Linked DNA regions of Homo sapiens: region 1 is linked to region 2. The links are contacts of gene promoters, found by promoter capture Hi-C in human tissues and cell types (Jung and others, 2019). All regions are on one chromosome and are shown on one strand. The core of a region is centred on a gene start or on the middle of the fragment in contact, and the rest is flanking DNA. Distances in the headings are between cores, read along the strand shown.

What was found. Contacts are between HindIII fragments. The study calls those that stand out against the background at their distance.
Region 1: a contact is called between a fragment that was not itself captured here and the fragment with the promoter of WNT4 in region 2, in 1 of the 25 tissues and cell types used here (IMR-90 fibroblasts).

What each region holds. Positions count from the first base shown.
Region 1 is chr1:22,292,735-22,298,766 of GRCh38, reverse strand. No RefSeq gene overlaps it. Among named protein-coding and RNA genes, the nearest start is that of MIR4418, 30 kb to the right of the region's middle. RefSeq lists an enhancer at 976-1,475. The HindIII fragment of the contact is 4,636 bases long and covers 1-3,649 here.
Region 2 is chr1:22,141,547-22,147,763 of GRCh38, reverse strand. It overlaps WNT4 (Wnt family member 4), which reads left to right and starts at 4,667. Exons shown (of 5, transcript NM_030761.5): 1 at 4,667-4,918. The coding sequence starts at 4,842. The region is part of intron 1 of LOC105376845 (a long non-coding RNA gene); the gene reads right to left. RefSeq lists silencers at 4,248-4,577, 5,140-5,199. The HindIII fragment of the contact is 15,863 bases long and covers 1-6,217 here.

The DNA of each region.
Region 1 (6,032 bases), core at 82-2,581, 150 kb before region 2:
TTAAAGTCAAAAATATCTGGGCTTAAATCCTGGCTCCACTGCCTTCTTCTTGGATGACCTTGGTAAGGTGACTTCTTAACCTGTCTGAACCTGTTTCTTCACATATAAAAACAGGACGATGCTCTTTAGCTAAGAGAGTGGTCACGAGGATCAAATGAGATAATATGCATCAAACACCTGGCACAGCATATGTGCTTAGTAATGGAAGATATTAATCCTTCATTTGATAAACGTCTGTTGAGCACCTGTTCTGTGGGGGCCTTGTGCTGAAGACACAGAAACCAAGGAGTACAATAAGGGGTATAGGCAAACAAATAAATTGCACTGAAGTATGGTAAGAAATATTATAGAAATCTGAATAAAATTATCAGAGGACAGGGATGCCCCTAGGCTGAAGAGTCCTCCATCACTAGAGGGGTATAAGCAGAGAGCATGGGTACCATGTTTTCTTGCTGCCTGGTGTCTGGGTATAAGGGTTGGGTGGGAGAGGGACCTCTGAGCTTCGGGTGGAGTTGACTCCACTCCCAGCTGGTAAGGATAGCAGTGCATGTGACTAATCCTGGCCAATGGGAACTCACATCCCAAGGTCTTCTGAGGGACTTGATAAGGGTCTGGGGCTGCTGGCAGGCACCTTGCCTCCTTATAATACTGAGAATGAGGCTACCATGGAGGGAGCAGAGCTGAGGGATGTTCAGAGACCCATCTTTGATGATATGGTTGGAACAGCTGGATTCAACCATACCTGAAGCCAAACTCTCCTTGGATTTTGATGTAAATTAAGCCCCTTAAAAAATCCCCCTTTAGTTTTCATCTAGATCAACTTGGGTGCCTTTCCTCTATTCCTTGTGGACCAAAGAGTCCTGTAACTGACAATGAAGATGCTGAGAAGCTCAGTAAATGTTTGGTGAGAAGGGGGTATGGGAGGAGCTAGATGACCTCCAGAAGCCCTTCCGGTGAGAGAGGCTTTGAGTTGGGCATTGAAGGGGCTGAATTGTTGGTTGTTTGAAGGACAGCAGAACAGAGCAGGCAGTGCAGTGCCCCAGAGTTCCGCCGACTCCAGTTTCCATTCCGGGAGCACTTCCTGGTGCATTTAAATGTGCCCCTGTGTGTGAGTGCCTTCAGGGGGTTTCAAAATAGCCTGAAATATAAACAGACTGGAAACCTACTCCTTCTCTTCCTCTCCCTGCTTTTCCTCTCTCCCGGGGTGGGGATGGGGGAAGCTGGTGCCGGTGCTGCAGAAGCTCCATTTGGAGGATTTAGAAAACATTTCAAGTTCGGTCTCCTTCTTTCTAAGTCTGGCAAGACCGCCTGCCTGGGGCAATTTTCCCCCTGAGTGCCAGGCCCAGGTGTGTGGGCAGGAAAAAGCAGCCCATTGTGTTCCAGCTTCGGGTCCTTCCGGTCCTAGGACTTGGCCCCTGCCAGCCTTGGGTTCCCAAGGAAAAGAGGCAGGGAGCACACTGGAGAAGCAGTGGGGCCTGGCACTTTCCTGCTGATGGAACAGATCCCTTCACGATAAAATTCCAGGCCACAACAGTTTATTGAGCAACTACCCCTGGGAGCTAACCAGAGGGACAAAACTCAGGGAACAGAACATGCTTTAATCTGGGATTCGGGATGTTAGCCTGCCGTGAACCTGGGGTAACTGGTTCCAAAGCCAGCTCCCAGCACACCTCCCAGAATTCACACCCTTGTGGGGCCCCTCCCCTGGACCTGCACAGGCTCCGTGACTCACTTTTAACCAACAGAACACAGCAGAAATGATGCTGTGTGATTTCGGAGGGGAGGTCAGAAGCCTTGCAGCCCCAACTGTCCTTCTCGGGACACCCGCCCTGGGGTGCTCCCTCTAGGGGCCCAGCCACCTGCTGTGGGAAGCCCAAGCCACAGGGAGAAACCACAGATAGTATCATGTGTTCCGTTGTGTTTCCCCACCACACCCAAATTCATATGTTGAAGTCTTAACCCTCAGCACCTCAGAATTTCCTAATCTAGGAATAAGGTTGTTGCAGATGTACTTAGTTAAGATGAGGTCATCCTGGAATAGGGTGGCTAATCCAATGTGACTGGTGTCCTTATAAATCGGGGAGATTTTGGGCACAGAGACATGCACATGTGGAGAATGCCATGTGAAAATAAAGACAGAGATGGGGGTGGTGCTTCTACAATCCAGGAAATGCCAAACATTGCCAGGAAACCATCAGAGCCTGGAAAGTTCTCCCTCACTTGGACTTTGATGTGAACTGAGTCCCCTAAAAGGTCTCCCTTTATTTTTCCTCTAGATCAGCTTGGGTGCCTTTTGTCTTTTTTGACTAGGGGAGTCCTATAACTGACAACGGAGATGCTGAGATACTCAGTCAATGTTTGGTGGGAAGAAGGGATGAGAGGAGCTAGATGACCTCCAGGGGACCCTCCTTCTCTCTCTAGGAGAGAGTCTGGAAGATTCTCCCTCACAGTCCTCAGAAGGAACCGACCATGCTGACACCTTGACCTTGGACTTCCAGCCTCCGGAACTGTGAGACAGTGTGTGTTGAGTGATGACCTGGCATCTCCTCCCTCTGTTTCAGAAATTTCAAAAATGTGGGTACCAGAGCAAAATTATTGGAGGGTTGACGTCAGTCAACCTCCCAAATGGTTCAGACCAAGGCATTCTTAGCCAATGTGGGACATTCTTTCCTTGCTCAGGAAAAAAGCAAACATGCCCTTAATTCGGTGATGCCAGAGTTGTTCTTTTGCAAGGATTAGGGTCAACACATGGCAACAGAGGGCCACGCACTCGTCGTGTGAGACCAGACTGGCTTGGGTCTGGGGAAGAAAAAATCCATGCTTGCTAAATGCAACGTGGGATCCTGAATTGAATCCTGGAATGGCAAAAGGGCATTCATCGAAAAACGGGTGAAACCTGAATAATCTATAGTTTAGTTAAGAGTAATGTACCGACGATGATGTCTTAGTTTTGAGAAATGTTCCATGGTAAAGCAAGATGCTCACATTAAGAGGAATGGAGTGAAAGGTATACAAGAACTCTCTGTACTATCTTTACAACTTTTCTGTAACTCTAAATGTTTTTCAGGATAAAATGTTTATTAAACAAAAAAAGCTAGCATTTGCAGTGATGAAATGTGTTTGTCTTTAGACAGGTCAAAGGGGAGTTGGCCAAGTCCCTTGCTGATGAGGAGGTCATCTCAAAATCAAAACCCTTTGCCCTCCCAAGTGACAAGTGGGGTAATAGTTGTTGTTCATAGGGTTATGTCAAAGACTAAATGAAATAAAACATGTAAAGGGCTTGGCATAGAGCAAGGACCGTGGCAAGCATTCAATAATCGTAAGCTGCTGTTGTTGTTTAGTAAAACCACTTCACTAACAGTATCCCCATGATGCCACATTGGCTGGTGTGAGGAGTTTATAGCTCTGCCAGCCCACTGTGGTTTTGCTCTAATGCACTCTCAAATGTATGAGTTCTCTGTTGCTGAATAACAATATTACCATTAACTTAGTGCTCTATTTGGTTTGTTTGTTTGTTTTTGAGACAGTCTTGCTTTGTGGTCCAGGCTGTAGTGCAGTGGCACAATCTTAGCTCACTGCAACCTCCCGGGTTTAAGCAATTCTTATGCCTCAGCCTCCCATGTAGTTGGGATTACAGGTGTGCACCACCATATGTGGCTAATTTTTATATTTTTAGTAGAGATGGGGTTTTACCATGTTGGCCAGGATGGTCTTGACCTCTTGACCTTCACTGATCTGCCTGCCTTGGCCTCCCAAAGTGCTGGGATTATAGGTGGGAGCCACCATGCCCAGCCAATTTAGTGCTTTTAAAACACGTTTATGGCCAGGCATGGTGACTCACACTTGTAATCCCAGCATTTTGGGAGGCCAAGGTGGGCAGATCACTTGAAGTCAGGAGTTCGAGACCAGCCTGGCCAACATGATGAAACCCCATCTCTACTAAAATACAAAAAATTAACCAGGCGCAGTGTTACGCACCGGGAATCCCAGCTTCTCAGGAGGCTGAGGGATGAGAATCGCTTGAACCCAAAAGGCGGAGGTTGCAGTGAGCCGAGATTGTGCCACTGCACTCCAGCCTGGGCAACAAAGTGAAACTCTGTCTCAAAAAAATAAAAATTAATTAATTAATTAATTTAATTTAATTAAACACATTTATTATCTCACAGTTTCTGTGGGTCTGGAGTCTGGGCATAGCTTACCTGAGTCCTGTGCAAAGCTGCAATTGAGATGTCAGCCAAGGTCAGGGTCTCATCTGAAGGACCAAATGGGGAAGAATCCACTTCCAAGCTCATGTGGTTGTTGGCAGGGCTGAACTATTTTACAGTGCAACACCTCTCACACCAAATGTGTCGGGGTTTTTTCCATACCACAATAACCAGTTCTCCAACTCTCCAGATATCAACTAGGTGTCCAATGATTCCATTCAAGTCTGACACTAACTACTGGGAGTTAGCATCTGTCCCCACAGGTTAAGGGCTCAGTCTGGCAAGACCGCTCCCACCCAGGCACCAATTGCAAGTTCTGGGCCTCCTGTACTTCTGACCAACAAGCTATAAATCAGGAGTTCCCATGACCACCTCTCTATAATTTGCTAGAAAGACTCACAGCACTCAGGAAGCACTTTACTTACTACTACTGGTTTATTATAAAAAAAATACAACTCAAGGACAGCCAAATGGAAGAGTTGCATAGGGCAGGGTGTGTTGTGGGAGGGTGCAGAGCCTCCATGCCCTCTCAATGTACCATCCTGGCAGCACCTCAATGTGTTCACCAACCCAGATCGCCAAACCTGTTGTTTAGGGATTTTATGGAGGTTCCATTATGTAGGCATGATTGATCAAATCATTGGCCATTGGTGATAAACTCAATCTCCAGCCCTTCTTTCTTCCCCAGAGCTCTGGGGGATAGGGCTGAAAGTTCCAACCTTCTCATCTTGCCTCAGTCTTTCTGGCAACCAGCCCCAGTCCTGAAGCTATCTAGGGACCCCCAACCACCAGTCATCTCATCAGCATACAAAAGATATTCATCACTCCAGAGATTCCAAGGGTCTTAAAAGCTCTTACGCCAGGAACCAGGGACTAAGACTAAATATTATAACAACAGATGCTCCTATCATCCCATCGTGCAGGAAATTACAAGCATTTCAGAAGCTCTGAGCCAGGAATCAGAGATGAAGAATAAATATATATTTTTAATATTCATAGTATCACAGCAGCATTCAGTTCCTTGTAGGTTGTCTTGCTAGTATTGGCTGTAGACCACCCTCAGCTCCTTGCCAAACGGGCCTCTCCATGGGGCTGCTTACAGCATAGCAGCTGGCTGCAGCAAGCCAGCCAGGGAGAGAGGCTACCAGCAAGAAGGAAGATACAATCTCACCAAACGTCATCCCAGAAGTGACATCCTGTCACCTCTGCTGGTTAGAAACAAGTCACAGGTCCTCCCCAATTCAAGGGGAGGGGATGACACAAGGCATAATAGCAGGAGATGAAAGTTAAAATAAAAATAGGTAAAAATCACTGGGGATCATCTTTTTTTTAATTTTTTGTTCTTGTTTTTGCATTTTTTGAGACAGGGTCTGTTGCCCAGGCTTGAGTGCCATGGTGTGATCTCAGCTTACTGCAGCCTCAACCTCCTGGGCTCAAGCAATCCTCCCACCTCAGCCTCCTGAGTAGCTAGGACTACAGGCACATGCATGACCACACCCAGCTAATTTTTAAAATTGTTGTAGAGACAGGGTCTTGCTCTGTTGCCCAGGCTGGCCTTGAACTCCTGAACTCTGTTGTCCAGGCTCAGGTGCTCTTCCCACCTCAGCCTCCCAAAGTGCTGGGATTACAGGCATGAGCCACCATGCCTGTCCCCTGGGGAGGGACCATCTTAGAGTCTTCTGAGCCCAGAAGTGTTGAATCAAGGCCTGGCAGTTGGTGAATGCACAGCTGCCTAGTACCATGAATTAAAGGAAGCTGAAGAGGGGCTGAGGTGTCCAGGGACATAGACAATAGTAGCTACTACTTACTGAGCACCTACTACATGCC
Region 2 (6,217 bases), core at 3,418-5,917:
TTCCTCATGACATCGCTATGATCCCCTTGAACAGATGAGGAAACTGAGGCTCAGAGAGGCAAAGAGATCTGTCAGGGCCTGGAACAAATGCAGGTATTCCCCAGAACTTGCTGGTCCACTTCACTGCTTCTCTAGATCCCACAAGAGTCTTTAAGGAGCAAATGCCAGTCCCAGAGAGGAGCAAGGACTTGCCGAGGGCCGCACATACATGGATGGCTGGCTGGGACTGACCAGGTTTCCCGTTCCCTCCCTGGTCAGGGTGAACAGCCTTGGAGGAGACGCCTGTGCAGATATGCCCAGCCAAAGCCCAACACATGTAGACCAGAGTGGCACGGGAAGAAAGTACCTTTTATTTCCTTGCAAAGTGCACGGATAGGCATTAAGACTTTTCTAGACCCTAATTAGCTGGGCGAAGTGGCAGGCACCTATAATCCCAGCTACTCTGGAGGCTGAGGCAGGAGAATCGCTTGGGCCCTGGGAGGCAGAGGTTGCAGTGAGCTGAGATCGCGCCATTGCACTCCAGCCTGAGTGACAAGAGCAAGACTCCATCTCAAAAAAAAAAAAAAAGAATTTTCTAGACCCTGAGCCTAGTGCCCCCAGTTTCTTCACCTCACAAATCTGGGAAATTGGACTAGAAATCCTGGTCACCAGCTGACCTGACACTCCGTTACCAGGTGCTTCCAGGACTGAGCTGGAGAAACATCCAACCACGTTGCTTTGGGCCCACTCCCTAAGAGCTGGTGATAACTTAGACACACTGAATGTGATTCTTTCTGATTAAAAACTTGACTGGGTTTCCCTTCCTCAGTGAATTTTCATAGTTATTAAGGAGGGAGAACTAATTCCAAAAATGGGCCGCTCAGGAAGTTAAGGAATTGGTCCCTTCAAGAAAGATATGTTCCCATTCTATTATGTGTGAGGTACTCATGGTGCTGGGCACAGAGAGGGATATGGTGTGGAGGGCTCTGCCTTGGATTTTGAGGGTTTAAAGTAACCCCCAGGAAGAGTCTACAGAAACCCCATGAGCTTCCCCTTCTGAACACAGACATTAATTCTGACATGTGGAAGACTTTTGTCCATTGAACAGCTTTGTGCTCGCTCAGTGCCCAGACCACCTGCTTCCAAACCCTGGCTGTGCTGCTACCTGGGTGACTTTAGGCAATCCACTTGAACTCTCTGTGCCTCAGTTTCTCCATATGTAAAATGGGAATAACAATAATCTTAACCTATGTAATAGGGTTGTTAATATGTCTTATAGCAGTTTTAGAGCCACACATGGGCTTCCCCTCCTGTAAATGGAACTAAGAACAGTATCTACTTCCTAGAGCCGTGGCCAAGATTCCATGAGTTAATGCGAACAGGCAAAGCACTTGGAACAGTGGCTGGTATATATAGAAAGTACCAGATGCACTCTTACTACTGACATTAAAGAGCTATTGACAATTTGACTTTTTAGTTAATTTGCATTGATATCTTCACAGTTGGGCTGTTCTTGAAAGTTAGAAGAGCATTTCCTCCAAGAGACTTTCTCATTAAGAATTTCCGGCCAGGCAAGGTGGCTCATGCCTGTAATCCTAGCACTTTGGGAGGCCGAGGCAGGTGGATCACGAGGTCAAGAGATCGAGACCATCCTGGCCAACATGGTGAAACCCCGTCTCTACTAAAAAAATACAAAAATTAGCTTGGCATGGTGGCACGCACCTGTAGTCCCAGCTACTCAGGAGGCTGAGGCAGGAGAATCAGTTGAACCCGGGAGGCGGAGCTTGCAGTGAGCCGAGATCACACCACTGCACTCCAGCCTGGGCGACAGAGGGAGACTCCGTCTCAAAAAAAAAAAAAAAAAAAAAAAAAAGAATTTCCACTGACTCAGAGCAAAGGGCTCCTCCTCTCCATTATCACAGCACAGCTCAGGGAGACACTTTCTGATGGCTCCAGTTCTCTCCCTCCTGGGCTCAGCTTGATCCTGCTCGTGGGGCTCACACACACCCACTCATATGCATCTCCCAGCACCCCAGGAGAAGGCAAGCCAGGTAACATTGTTCCCACCTGATGGATACAGAAACTGAAGGTCCTGCAGCTTCCCAAAGGTCAAGTGTCATGTGCTTTGGGACAGGGGCTTAAGCCCAAACACCTGAGTCCCAGGCTCAGGATGGTATGGGAGCCGGGGATGTGGCTCTGGAGTCCCAGGTCCACCACTTTCCTTAAGCAAGTAACCTGGTGTCTTCATCTGTAAAATGAGGGTGATAACAGTACGTACTTCCTAGATTTGTTGCAACGATTGAATGAGTCAAAGCGTGTAAAGCACTAAGAACAGTGCCTGACATACCAGGGCACAACATTTGAGTGGCACAGTGCATCCTAGGTGGCCTGGCACAGTCTTGGTCTATGCCTGGTAGCCTGGCAAATCTTCCAGTTAGAGCCCCCCGTCACTCTTGAAAACATCCTGGTTTGGAAGAAAATTATATGGCCATCCTAACATAATTACCTGTTGCCATCTAAATTATTATCGTTGTTATTATTATTTTCCACCATACCATACTGAGTCTCCAGGAAGTGAATATGCTGGTTCAAAATAGGTCAGCACTTCAGTACCACCCTTAAACACAGGTGAGAGTGGCCCCTGCCCTGGGGACCCCCCCAGTCTGGCCCTCCTCCAGCTAACCTCTCATCACAAGGAGGGAAGACCATGGGACAAGGGGACATGCCCACCTGGAACTTGTGGCACCTCCACTAGAGCATACTCTGGGTGCCCAGGCCCCTGGGGTTCCCTGCAGAGATGGCCCTTAGCCCACTGCCAGGACCTGCGTGGGTCTCTTCCGCAGATCCAGCCCGAGGACAGAGTACACCACTGGCGTGCCCAGCCCTAAGCCTGAGGGGCTACCAAGGGGCTGAGCTTGCATGTGCAGGCTGAGATGTTCATGAATGTGCACAAGACTCTCGAAGGACAGGACAGAGGCAGAGGTAGGAAAAGGTAGGGGGCAGGGGCCCAGGCCAGGCACTAGGGGCCCCCTCTCCCTGTGCCACCAGCTCCAGGGCAAGGTCTGAGGAGTATGAGAATGCCACACTCAAAGCCAGCTTTCTGCCTTGTTAGGAAAGTGTATTTGTCAAGATAGAAGAATAGAACATAATTTATTTTGCATTTTGTTAGCTTGATTTATAGCCTGCAAATATTTGGACATATGGTATGTGAACCTCCATCTATACTCTTGCCCAGCCCCACAAATCCCTGCCACGTTCCACCCAGTCCCAATACCAAATGTTTACTGAGCCCTTCCTCTGTTCTGAGCCCAGGGGACCCCAGGGCACCATCCCAGCACCCAAACATGATGGCCTCTGTGGGAGCAAACTTCATACTCCAAAATCAGTGAAGAACTAAGATCAGGGGGTGAGGGCATAGACCTGGTCCTTGCCTCTGTTCCCAACCCCTAGGGAGGTGGGACAGGTGCCTCCCTTTCCGGGCCTTAGTTTTACTGTTTAGATAAGAGGTCCCTCTACCTGTGAGCAGCTGGGGGATGCAGCCTGGAGGATGAGTAGCACACAGAATCAGATCAGTGACCTGAGAGGGTGTGGCGTGGACTTGGGCAGACAATTCTTAGGGGTTACAGTGATGTGGAATTGAGCTCTCTGGACTAGCCAAGCACAGGCTGTTGCAGCCCATTCCATTCCATTCATTTATTCCTTCCACAAACATGGCAGGCACCGCCCTGTGCCCAAAACAAACAAGAGGCTGAATCTGCCTAGTATGGGAGGATAAATCGAACAAGCACATAGAAAACCAAATGCAAAGTAAGACTTGGTGAGTGAGCCAAGAGAGCTTCCCTAAACTCCTCCTGTCCTCCCAATCACAGCGTCTTAAGCCCACTTCCCGGATGAGAAAACGGAGGCTCAGAGTCAAGACCCTGCTGCCTGGGGCGCGCCCAGACCTTGTGGCTAGCCAGAAGCGAGGTTTCGGATTCCCACAGTCTCGGGCCACTGTCCCAAGCTGCCCAAAGCTGGGGAGGCCCCGTCCAGCTCCCGGAAGGCTGTAGGGAGGTGAGCGCCAGGGAGGGGCTGGGCCGCAGGACGCGGGGGCCAGGAGGCAGGGAGGGGCCGGGCGGGGGGCGGTCGGGAGACATCCAGCGCCCCGATGTGCAGCCCCAGGCACCCGGAGCGCCAGCGCCTGGGTGCGCGCGAGTGGTAGCCGCGCTCCGGTGGGTCCGCCGCGGTCGGACCGGGGTCTGGGCTCCAGGCGCCGGCGGGGGGCGGTGGGGGGGGTAGGGGGACAGCGAGGGCCGCGCTGCAGTGCCCGCAGCGGCGGGTTGGGGGAGCTGTGCCCGCCTGTCCCCTAGGCCCGGGCGGCGGCCGGGCAGCTGGGTCGCCGCGCCTCTAGCCGGGCCGGGCTCGGCGGCGCGCAGCCAGGCGTGCCTGGAGCGGGCTCGGGCCCCAAGTCCTCCGGAGCGCCCAGCCGGGGAGGCCCCGGGAGCAGCCCAGTCCCGCGGGCTAAGGCGGCAGCCGCCGCCGCTCCGGCCCGCCCCCGGGGGGGTGTCCCGGGCCGCTGGGCCCGCCCAGGTAACCCCATCCTCGGCCCGCCCCCGGCCCGCCCCCCCGGCCGCCCGCCCGCCCGCCCGCCTCCGCCGCCGCCGCCGCCGCCGCCGCCGCCGCATCCCGGCTCTGGGGCGGCGCTGACAGTCTGGTCCGCGCCGGGCAGCGGGCGCAGCAGCGGGCAGGCTGCCGGCAGGCACACGGAGGCAGAGCCCCGCCGCGCGCGCCCCGGCCCGCCCGCGGGCGCCCACCTGCAGCCCCGACGGGAGGCCCCCCGCGGCCGCAGCCGCTGCCCCGGGCCGGGCGCCCGCGGCGGCACCATGAGTCCCCGCTCGTGCCTGCGTTCGCTGCGCCTCCTCGTCTTCGCCGTCTTCTCAGCCGCCGCGAGCAACTGGCTGTAAGTCTGGCCGGGGCCGAGCGGGGCGGGGCGGGGCGGGGCAGGCCCCGGGGGCAGCGGCCGGTGCCAGGCGGCGCGGGGCAGCGGGCGCGGGGCAGCCCGGCAGGTGTCTCGGCCGCGGGACCGGAGGCTCGCTCGCTCCGCTGCCGCCGCCACGGCCCGAACGTCCCTCTGCACACCCGGGGTCCCCTCCTGCCCGGGTCCGGCTCCCTGCCCAGAGGCGTCAGGGGTGGCTGTGGCGGCGTCCGCACCGGTAGGCGGCTCGGGGCTCTCGAGGGCGCCAGGGGTGCGAGCGCGGGGCGGTGGCCCGGGAGGGGCGCCGGACGCGGGTTGCAGTCCAGCCGGGCTGACAGGTCGCTGAGGAAGCCCATTGCAGGGAAGGGCTCCGGGACATAATAGCAGGTTAATCCCGAGAAGTCCGGAGCGAGCTCCCAGCGCCGAGCTGCGCCGAGCTGCGCCGCGCTGCGGGCTGGGCTGGAGGCGTGCAGGGACCTGTTTCTGCTTGGGGGGCGGGAGCCGGAGACAGAAGGAAGGGACCAGGACGCCTGGTCTCCCAGGGCCCGGGGCTGGCGCTGGCGCTGGCCGGGCCTTGGTTTTTCCCCGGGGCAGGAAGAAACTCCGTCCAGACCTTAAAGAAGACAACGGCCCCCCAGCTCCCCGTGTCTAGCCTAAGGAGGAAGGGGTGGTAACCGCTGGTGACCTGTCTGTTTCTCCTTGACTGGATCTGCGCTCAGGGCGCTCCCTGGGTAGGGGCGGAAGGTTTGCTGCAGGGAGGGAGACTAAAGGGATGAGCTCCAGTGAGTGGGTGGACAGGGAGCAAGCGGACCCGCGCTCCTTTCATCCCCGCTCAGGGACAGTTCCCCATGCCCCGCGCTTAACCCTGGCCCCAGTTCCTCCTGCCCAGAGCTCTGCCACCATCCGCTGTGGGCAGCCAGTGGGGAGCCAAGCTCCAATATTGATCTGAAAAGCATGGGGTGGGAAGGGGGATCGCCAACAGTGTAGCTGGGGTTTCCATGGAGACAGGGAGAGAGGAAAAAATTCTCTCTGCATCAAGACCAAAGAACAAATATCTCCCATGAAATTGCCCCGAGTGTCCAATGGCTGTTGCTATGAGGTCATTGTGGCCAGCCAGAGCCCTCCAGGCTGGAAGGAGTGTGTTCGTTGGGGTCAGAGCCACCCAGGGCTTGGGGGACGGAGGTGATGTGGAATTCTCCCAGCTGTTCCGAGAGCAAACGACTCCAAGGCAGCCCGAAGTGGCTGCGGAGCTTTTGTTTTTCTTGGAGCCTTAATTTGATTAAC